Regions from separate parts of the Homo sapiens genome. Here regions 2 and 3 are each linked to region 1. The links are contacts of gene promoters, found by promoter capture Hi-C in human tissues and cell types (Jung and others, 2019). All regions are on one chromosome and are shown on one strand. Each heading gives the region's core, a stretch centred on a gene start or on the middle of the fragment in contact. The rest is flanking DNA. Distances are from core to core; before and after follow the strand shown.

Region 1 (3,367 bases), core at 316-2,815:
CCTCTCATCCAGAGCAGGCTTTTCAAGCTGCCAACCCAGTCTCAAATAATCATTACCATAAACACGGGTTCCTATTACACCCGTTGCAAAAAGGCTTAAAACGCCGATAATAGCGCACCAATATTATTTCAACAGTTTTGACCGGCGCGTTAAAATGAACTTCAATGCTGAGCCACATTATAAAGGGTTGAGTCAAGCTCCTGATTGTGTAAGATAGCATTTCCCTTAAATGAGCACTTCTCTTCTTTCCTCAGAAGCTAGGCTTCTTTTCAAATTAAAGAAAATACTCCACCCCTCAAAAACCTGGCATATTCTCGGTTCCCTTTACGCTTATTCACACCAGAAACGCTGAATCATGACTCCGAGGTTGTAAAAGAAAAACTATTTCGGCTGGGGCCCCAGGGTCCCTGGAGAAGCCTAGGCTCTGCGTTACCTCTCTCTGCACCTTCTAAAGTCTAGATCCAGAGAAGTCTGGCAGATTGGAGAGCCTCTGGGAGCAGCCAAGGGTGCAAGGCGGGGGCTGGGGGGCTCGGGAGAGTTTTCTGCTCCCTCTCCTGAACCCACGCAGCCCTGTCAGCTCAAGGCTCCCGCCTCGTCTCATCTGAACGAAACCCTTAAGGGGCTGATACACTTCTCATCTGCAAAGCTGCCCAACAGCCTCCGAGAAATTCTCTACTTGGAAGCATCGCCACCACCGCCACCCCTCCGGAACCCTCTGGGTCCGCGCTAGTCCCACTTGGTCACGATCCGGCAGGCGAAGGGGTGCGGAGGCGGTTTCACCAGCCCGCTCCCAGCCCTGCCTCGAGAGAGAAGCCCGCTGAGAGGGCAGACAGTTGAGAAACTCGATCCCAACTCCCCAGCCGGCGCCTCCCGAACCGCCCCGAGAGCCCAGATTAGCCGGGCAGTGGATCCCGGAGCAAAGTGCCATGCACATCCTGGAGAGGAGGGAGGCGTGGAGGGAAAGGGCGGCAAAAATGAAATGCCCCCAAGTCAGTCCCGCAACTTCTCCCGGTCCGAGGGACGGGCGGAGGGTAGAGGAGGCAGCGGCGGCTAGCGCGAGGTGAGGGACTCACTTGAAGGTGAGGACGCAGAGCGGCCGGTAGGACTTGTGGCTGGTGTTCTCGGCCATGCCCTTGCCCCAGAAGTCGTTGGTGAAGATGCCCCAGCGGAGCGGGGCGCCGGGCCGCACGTCGGGGTTGTTCACGATCGCCCACACGTCGTCGTGCACGAACTCGCCCTGCAGGGAGCGGCCGTAGCACAGGCAGCTTGCCCCGGCCAGCAGCGCCGCGGCCCCGGCCGGCGCTAGCCCGCAGCCCCGCCGCCGGGAGGGTGTGCGGTCCCCGCCGCCGCCTCGGGCAGAGGTGGTCACCACCATCGCGCCGCCGCCGCCGCTGCTGCCCTGGCCTCTCCCGGGCGTCTGGCATCCTCCCCTACCGGGGCCCCGGCGGCGCGCGGCGTCTGCCCGGAGGGGGGCTCGGGCATGGTGCTGCGGCAGCTGGACCCGCCGCGAGCTCCCCGCGCTCCGCCGCCGCCTGCGCCGCGGAGTTGGCCCAGCTGCAAATAAACAGCAGTCCCCCCGCCTCCCCCGGCCATCGCCACCTCCTCCGCCCCACTGCGCATGCCCGCTCGCTCTCTCTTCCACCGCCCCCCAATCCCGGGACGCGGGCCGGTTCCCCCGCACAGCCCGGCGCCCTCTGCCCCCGGCCCGCCTTGCTTGCAGGTGGACCGGGGTTCGCGGCGCGCGGCTGCCCGGGAGCTGCGGGGAAGGACACCCCAGGTTCCCACTTGCGGTGTCCGGCTGTGCTCACCCCCACGCCCCCGCCCCCATCCTTCTCCCCCGAATGGGGCTGGGAAGGGGCACATCTGGCGGACCCCTCCCGGGGGACCCAGGAGGGTTTAGCAGGTGCGCAGTCTGGAACCCCCACACCCACCTTCCAGGGAGAAAAGTGCCGCTGCTTCCCGGGAAGTTCCCGGCTTTTCAGCACCCGGGACAACAGCAGCGGCGCCCGGAGAGACGCTCTCCACCCGCCCCGCGCTCGCGTCCAGTCGCCGGCTCTGTGCTCTCCTGCCCGGGCTTTCTCTCACCCGCCCGGCGCGGCGTCCCGCTTGGCGGAGGAACCCGCGGGGATAGGGAGCACCTTCCTCAAAGCCAGGAGAAGGGGTCTCCCTGGACAAGGACATCCTGCTCGCCCTGCCCGGGTGTGTTCAGAGGCGCCACCGGCTCTTTAACTTTACAGCCCCTTTCTTGGCCCGCACTTACAAAAAGTACCAGGTTCGAGTTTTGGTTTGGGCCTGGGAGCCGAATTGTCTTCTGAAACATTTCTTATTTTATTGTTTGCTCAAGATAATTTGGGAGATGCCAAGCAAACTACTTTTTCTATCTAGCTGGATCACTTGGGTCTCATTATTTCCTGGGCTGTGGGCGTGTTTGAACAGGGCGGGGAAGAAGGTGGGGATGGGGGGATGGGGAGGTGGGGGCGATTTGTATTAGGGCCTCTGGCTTTGGCTCCTAAACTTCCTGTCTTTCTGAAAGATTGTTTTCTTTTTTAAAATACTAATTTTAATAATATGTCCCAGAGTGATGATTACTAGAATTTCTCCAGGTCTGAAAATTCTATTTGTTCTTTCAGGCACCTTCTAAATTTCCATTGCTGAGTGTTAGAAGTTATCAGGAATTTGACACATCCAGATAGAAAAACTGAAAATAAAAAGTCACCCTTTTATTCTCATCCTCCCCAAACCCTTAAAAAGCTCACCGACATAATCCAGAAATTGTTCCTCTGCTATGAGTATTTGTGTGGCTCTTTACTATAACAACTTACTTTTTAAAAAATTTTAAGACATCTGAGCAGTTGAAAAGTCAATGAATTAAGATAAACTTATTGTAACTCAAAGTACGTTTCACCCATTTTCACTTTGTTTATTTGGTGACTTGAAATTAGTGACTGAGAAATGAAACTGGAAGTCCTGGACATGGATGTTTTCATTCTTCCATCAAAATCTTTCACGCTTGGTAACCTTAATATACCGACTTTAATATCTAGACACACCTGAGTCTATTTCCCCGTATAACACACTACAGCCTTTCCTATTCACCTATTAACTTAATAAAAATATATTAAGGAGATTCTTTGTGCTACAATGTGCTAAGTATAGGATTGGAAGACCCAAAGCTGCTCGTGTGTGTGCGTCTGTATGTGTGTGTGGTTAACACCATAAAAGTCTAGCTTTCTAAGTTAACAGCTGATTGGGATAGTGAAATTATCTTTGCTGAAATCATAGTTGAGGTAATAGGTCAATGTATCAATCCTTACCTATAATTAACGGAGGCTTTCTAGAGAGAACGTCTTAACCCAAAAGAGTGACT
Region 2 (3,069 bases), core at 477-2,976, 260 kb before region 1:
ACTCCTGGCCTCAAGTGATCCGCCCGTCTTGGCCTACCAAAGTGCTGGGATTACAGGCATGAACCACTGCACTTGGCCCTTTTAGGCATATTTTTCACAACCATTAGAGACTGTTATGTCACACTTACTTTTACTATACAGAAGGTGAAATTAATTAATCAAAGGTTCCCAGATACTAAGACTTATTTACCCACAAGTTAACAAAATGTCATCTTTTCCTAGTACAGCTGCGATGGTCATGTAAAATAAGATGATTTGGCACAAAGCACATGCCAGCTTTAAAAAATACATATATGCCCTGAGTATGGACATTTTCCAAAACCTTATCTCAAGTTACTCCTACCAAGCATTCAACCAGACACATGACAAAGGAATGTAGAGCAACAATTTCCTGAGACGTGGCACCTTAAGCTTGTGATTATGTGTTTAGATATTTACATTGAGGGCTGAACAATAAGCCAAGAAGCCCAAATCTGATTTGACCCAGAAAGGGACATATACTTTACACTCTGTAGAATGACCAATGCCATCTATTTGAGTTCCTACATTTAAGTAACATTAGGGAACAAGGTGTGGTTTGTCAAACTTCATCCACACTCCAGCAAAAATAAGGATCCATGTCTCTAAATATATGTTTTTTAATTGCCAAACTCAACAAATTATCAAATTCAAAAAATTTAAAGATGAATTAAAGTCTCAAAATATTTCCTTTCAATCTATTGAAGAGAAGCTTTCTGAAGCTCTCGTCCATTGAAGGACTGACAATGTGTGTGTGTGTGTGTGTGTGTGTGTGTGTGTAATGAAGACAGGCAGAACAGAAATTATATAACAACCTGAGAAAATTAACATCTAGAGAGTACCATAGGGTGTATATTCATGTATCCATTCATTCCACATGCATTTACTGCAATGGCTATAGAAGTATGACATAGTGGTTAAGAACGAGGCTCCCAAGATTTGACTGCGTGGATTCAAATCCAAGCCCCACCATCTACTGTCTGTGTGACCTTTCTTACCCACCATGTGCCCCAACTGTAAATCAGGGACAACAATCATACTTATCTTATAGGGTTGTTTTGAGGATTAAATCTATTAAAACATTTGAAACACTTAGAACAATGCTCAGCACATGGTCAGCACGTTGGTTTATCATGCTGGTCTTTATCCTTACTTATCCAAAATCTCATAGCTACATGGGGACAGAGAATAGAAGCTAGGTTTTCAGTGGGCCAATGGGGAATTGGGGAGCCCTGAATAAAAGCAGTATTTTTGGAAATAAACAAACATGACTGGCATAAACAGTTACACTTTTGGGTATTTGTCCATCTGTTCATCCATCCAACCTGTCCCTCCCTCCCTTTCCTTGACAAATATTTCACGAACACCATTGTTAAAAGAAAAACTTTAGACAAATTAAATGTAACAAAGTTTATTTGAGCAAGAAAGAGTTCACAGATTGGGCAACCCCCTGAACCAGAACAGGTTCAAGGAGACTTTGCCACTGCCATGTGGTCAGGGAGGATTTACAGACAGAAAAAGGAAAGCGACTTACAGAAAACAGAAGTGAGGTACAGAAATGGCTGAATTGGTTACAGCTCAGTGTTTGTCTCACTTGAACATAGTTTGAACAGCTGGCTGTCTTGATTGGCTGATTGGTAGGAGAGAAATAGGCACAAGGTGGTCTGTTTATGCATCCAGTTAGGTTACAGTTTACTAGGTACAGAGAAACTTTTAGGGCAAGCTTAAAATATGTAAGGAGGCAGTTTTAGGCTACATTTAACAATGCTCCCCTCAAAATTGAGAGGTGAACCAAAACTGTAGGCATTGATTTCACTCTACCACTATCGTAAAGGCACTTATTTGGTCTTAAGTTTTACTGGGAAATAGCAGAACAGTGAGCTTTGTAAGATGGTTTTTTTAGGTTATTTTTTTGAAAGAGAGTACAGGGGACCTCTCTGTGTTGGAATCTCTTGTTTTTTGGAGGGCAGAAAGAAAATTCGCGTCTATTTTAGGACTTACCTGTTTAGGATTTTTTTAAAAAATTTTAATTTGATTATGTCACACTTAGCATGAGTGACTCTATTTTGGTTTGGTCTGGTCTGCTGGGGCCTATTGTATGAACTCAGTCCAAAATAATGGCATCTCCTAATTTTGTTTAACAGTTTCTTCCTTTTGGTTATGATTTTACTTAGGTGAGTGTGACCATTAGGCTTTTAACGCCATTCTCAGTTACCATTATTTTAGGGTTTTGGTCTCAGTACATCATTTATTGGTTATGATGTCTTTATGAGAACACTCTTTTTTGAGTTTTTGTCATCTCAATTAAAGAGAGACCATTTGACATTTTACAAATGGCTGTATGTAACCATTGAAAACTTTTGAGGGAACATAGTGTGCCAGAGAGACAATTATAATGATCAAGAAGATCAAATCAAGAGTTTGGAGTATGCTCCTTAGTCAGCATCTCCATGAACCAAACCAACTAAAATGAAATAGATCAAAGAATGAGCCAGAAAAGGAGTCTACTTGTTTTAATCAAGCAGTCTGTTTATTAATACCCTACAACCAAATCTCTGTAATAGTCAATGCATTTATTTACATGTAACAAATAGAGTCAGTAATGGTACAGATTTTTTTCTGTTTATCCAGTAGACAATCTAGAGTAATTTTATTATCCAGCACAACCTTAGCAAGAGAATTTAAAGATGACTTTTGTGTAATCAGTCTTTGTAGTACAATCTGTTATGGAGCCTATTATGAGGGATGAATTGTAATCATTATCTCCTTTAAATTATGGGAAAAGGGGCCTAAGAATTATGTCTAGAAGAGTGTAAAGAAACTCCATGTTTAAACTTCACTAGAAGAGTGAAGGCCCCTGGCAGTGTTGTTTTAAACCTATGATGTAGGTTAAAAGGAATGAACCAATGTTCTGGTTCTGACTGATTATGGAAGAATAAAGATGCCATTAAATGTTTTTGCTCACATTGGTCCTGAATCTTTTCTACCCAGGCATAAGACTGTCAATGTATAATGCTGGCTGCAAAGTCCTCTACAAATAAAGTTATACCT
Region 3 (3,181 bases), core at 541-3,040, 360 kb after region 1:
GCAACAGCAATCCACTGCTTGGGATGGAACAAGACCGTGGGAAAAAAAAAAAAAAAAAAAACATGCAGCTCAGGCATGCAGGGCCTGCAGAAAGCTGAGAGCAGAACAGAAACACTGAAAAGAGCCCTGCAGTCATACAGGCCTCACTCTAAGCACAAAGAAGCAGCAGCAGCCACCGCTGAGGAATTTGAAGACTGGTGCACTGAGAGTAACTACAGCAGCATCAACAACAAACCCAGCTCAACCACTGATAACAACTGAGGGCCTGCCAGAAGAAGCAGTGTGCTCTTTTCAGCTGTCATTAACCCAGAAATGACTGAGATGTTGAAACTATCAGTCAGCAACTTTAAAAGAACTATAACTTATGTGTTAAATGGTTTAGTGTAAAAGGTGGACAACATGTATTAATAAATGGGAAATTTCATCAGAGATGAAATCGCTAAAAAAGATTCAAATAGAAAATCCAGTGTATACATAATGGAGAATTCTTTCCAGGCTTATCAGCAGACTGGACACAATAGAGAAAAGAATCAGTGAACTTGAAGATAGGCTGATAGAAATTATCCAAACTCAACCACAAAGAAAAATAGTAAGGAAAAAAGAACAGATTATCCCAAAGATGTGGGGCCATCAAATGGTCTTGCATACATATACTTGGAGTACCAGACAAAATATAGAAAGGGGAGGACAGGACAGAAAGAGTATCTGAAGAGGTAAGCTTCAAAATTAATGAAAGAAAACAAACCATAGATCCAAGAAGTTCAGAGAATCTAAGCAGTATAAATACCAAGCCAAGCACATCACAGTCAAACTGCTAAAACCATACATAAAGGGAAAATCTTGAAGGTAACCAGAGAAAAAAAGAAACATTTCCAGCAGAGGCACAAAGATAGGAATTAGCACAATTTTTTTTATCAGAAATCATGTAAGCAATAGACAATGGAATAACATCATGAAAGAATTGAAGGGAAAAAATCTGTCAAGCCAGAATTCTGTTTCTAGTGAAAATACCTTTCTAAAATGAGGGTGAAATGAATTTTTTTTTTCAGACAAACAAAATCTGAGAGTAATTATTTGCCAGTAGTCCAGCATGACAAGCAATGCTAAAGGAGGTTCTTTAGGCAGAATGAATGTGGTATAAGATAGAAATTTCTATTTACACAAAGAAAGAAAGGGTACAGGAAAATAAAAAATGTGGGTAAATATAAAAGACATTTTTCCTAATTTTAATATCTTTAAAAGATGATTGTCTGAAGTCAAAATAGGCACAGTATCTTTTGTAAAATATATGGGAACAGTAGGACAAAGGACAAGACAGAGGAAATGGAAATAAATGATAGTAAGATGCTTACACAATACGGGGAAGGCCATATTATTGAATCTGGACTGTGGTAAGATAAAGATATGTAATGCAATAGTTAAAAAGGAGACTAACTAACAAACTGATATAGTTTGGATATTTGTCCCCTCCAAAGCACATGTCAAAATGTGATCCCCAGTGTTGGAGCTGGGGCCTGGTGGGAGATGTCTGGGTCATGGAGCGAATCCCTCTTGAAAGGCTTGGTGCCATCCCCATAGTAATGAGTGAGTTATTGCTCTATTAGTTCATGCAAGAGCTGGTTGTTTAAAAGATCCTGGCATCCCTCTTGCTTCCTCTCTCATCATGGGACATATCTGCTCCCCTTTCACCTTATTCCATGAGTAAAAGCTTCCTGAGGCCTCACCAGAAGCCAAGCAGATGCTGGTGCCATGCTTGTACAGCTTGCAGAACTGTAAACCCAATAAATCTCTTTTCTTTGTAAATTATCCAGCCTCCAGTATTTCTTCAAAGCAACACAAAGCAGACAAATACATAAGCCAATAGGAGAGGTGAAATAGAATCATAAAGAATTCAAAAGAAGACAATAAAAGGGAAACAAATGAACAGAGAACAAATAGGGCAAATAGAAGACAACTAGTAGGATGGTAAAATTAAATATAAACATATCAACAAAGAAATTAATAGTATAAGCACCTCAATTAAAAGGCAAAGATTGTCAGATTGGATGAGAAAAAGCAAGACCCAATTACGTGCCGTCTAAAGAAAACCCACTTTAATATAAAGACATAGATAAATTAAAAGAATGGAAAATATATACCATGCAAATACCAATCAAAAGAAAGCTGGAGTGGCAATATTAATAGCAGAATATTCCTTAATGTTCTGAATAAGGAACACTACTGTTGATAAAGAGAGGCATTTCATGACACAGGAGTTAATTCATCCAGAAGAAACGATAATTCTAAATGTATACACATCTTATTACAGAGTTCAAATACACAAACAATAGGTGATACAACAATAGTTTTGTTGATTGGTTTGGTTTGTGCCACTACTCAAATGCTGTGACAAAGTGACTGCACCCTTGGTACCCATCACCACCACCACCTTTCTGCTTCCCCAAGTTAAGTGATAATGGTCTTGACGTAGCCATCAGAAGCTCTACAACTAAAGACAAATATTTTTACCTCCCAAGAAAAGAAAAATTTTCATACAAACATGTGTCCCTGGATGTCTTTAAACAAGGAAATTTTGAATCAAACTGAATGAGAGGAAATGCCAAGAAACACAGATAGAACTGTGGGGGGAAGAGATAAAACTTCCAAAATTAGAAATTTGATCTACCTTTATGACATTGAGTTCTAAGAACATTTACTTATTAAGTAGGCTTAAATTTGTATCAAGATACTTTAAAATGAAGGGATTAATATGTTAAGCAAACATGAATCCACAGACATCACTTATCTGGTGGCTATCTTGTCTGTGGAGACTTATTGTTTAACTTCACGCCTATGCATTCCATTATTTCATTCTCACAGGCAGGAGCTGAATGAAGTCAGAAACTTCTCATAGGAATTCAGTCAACAAGGAAAAGTGCTTAAAATAAGGGAAGGAGAAATAATGGTTAACAACAATTTCCTTCAGAAGAAAGTGTCATTATTTATTAATAATATATTATTTAGTCACAGATTTTTTTGTTACAAATTGCACCATCCTAGCTCATTGAACTTTTCTTGTAACTAATATGATGCCATTAATAATAGTCTGAAATATTGTTGGTTTCAGGTTAAACACTTGTATTAATTCATTCTCACAGGCTATAAAAAAAAAACACTGAGACTGGGTAATTTATAAAGAAAA

Evidence for each region. Contacts are between HindIII fragments. The study calls those that stand out against the background at their distance.
Region 2: a fragment that was not itself captured here is called in contact with the fragment with the promoter of TMTC1 in region 1 in 1 of the 25 tissues and cell types used here (spleen).
Region 3: a contact is called between a fragment that was not itself captured here and the fragment with the promoter of TMTC1 in region 1, in 1 of the 25 tissues and cell types used here (mesenchymal stem cells).

Annotation. Positions count from the first base shown.
Region 1 is chr12:29,782,377-29,785,743 of GRCh38, forward strand. TMTC1 (transmembrane O-mannosyltransferase targeting cadherins 1) reads right to left here and starts at 1,566. Exons shown (of 18, transcript NM_001193451.2): 1 at 1,074-1,566. The coding sequence starts at 1,375. The HindIII fragment of the contact is 32,748 bases long and covers 1-3,367 here.
Region 2 is chr12:29,521,790-29,524,858 of GRCh38, forward strand. All of the region lies in intron 11 of TMTC1 (transmembrane O-mannosyltransferase targeting cadherins 1), which reads right to left. All of the region lies in intron 2 of LOC105369714 (a long non-coding RNA gene), which reads left to right. Among named protein-coding and RNA genes, the nearest start is that of OVCH1, 26 kb to the left of the region's middle. The HindIII fragment of the contact is 4,073 bases long and covers 1-3,069 here.
Region 3 is chr12:30,138,509-30,141,689 of GRCh38, forward strand. No RefSeq gene overlaps it. Among named protein-coding and RNA genes, the nearest start is that of LINC02386, 160 kb to the right of the region's middle. The HindIII fragment of the contact is 4,532 bases long and covers 1-3,181 here.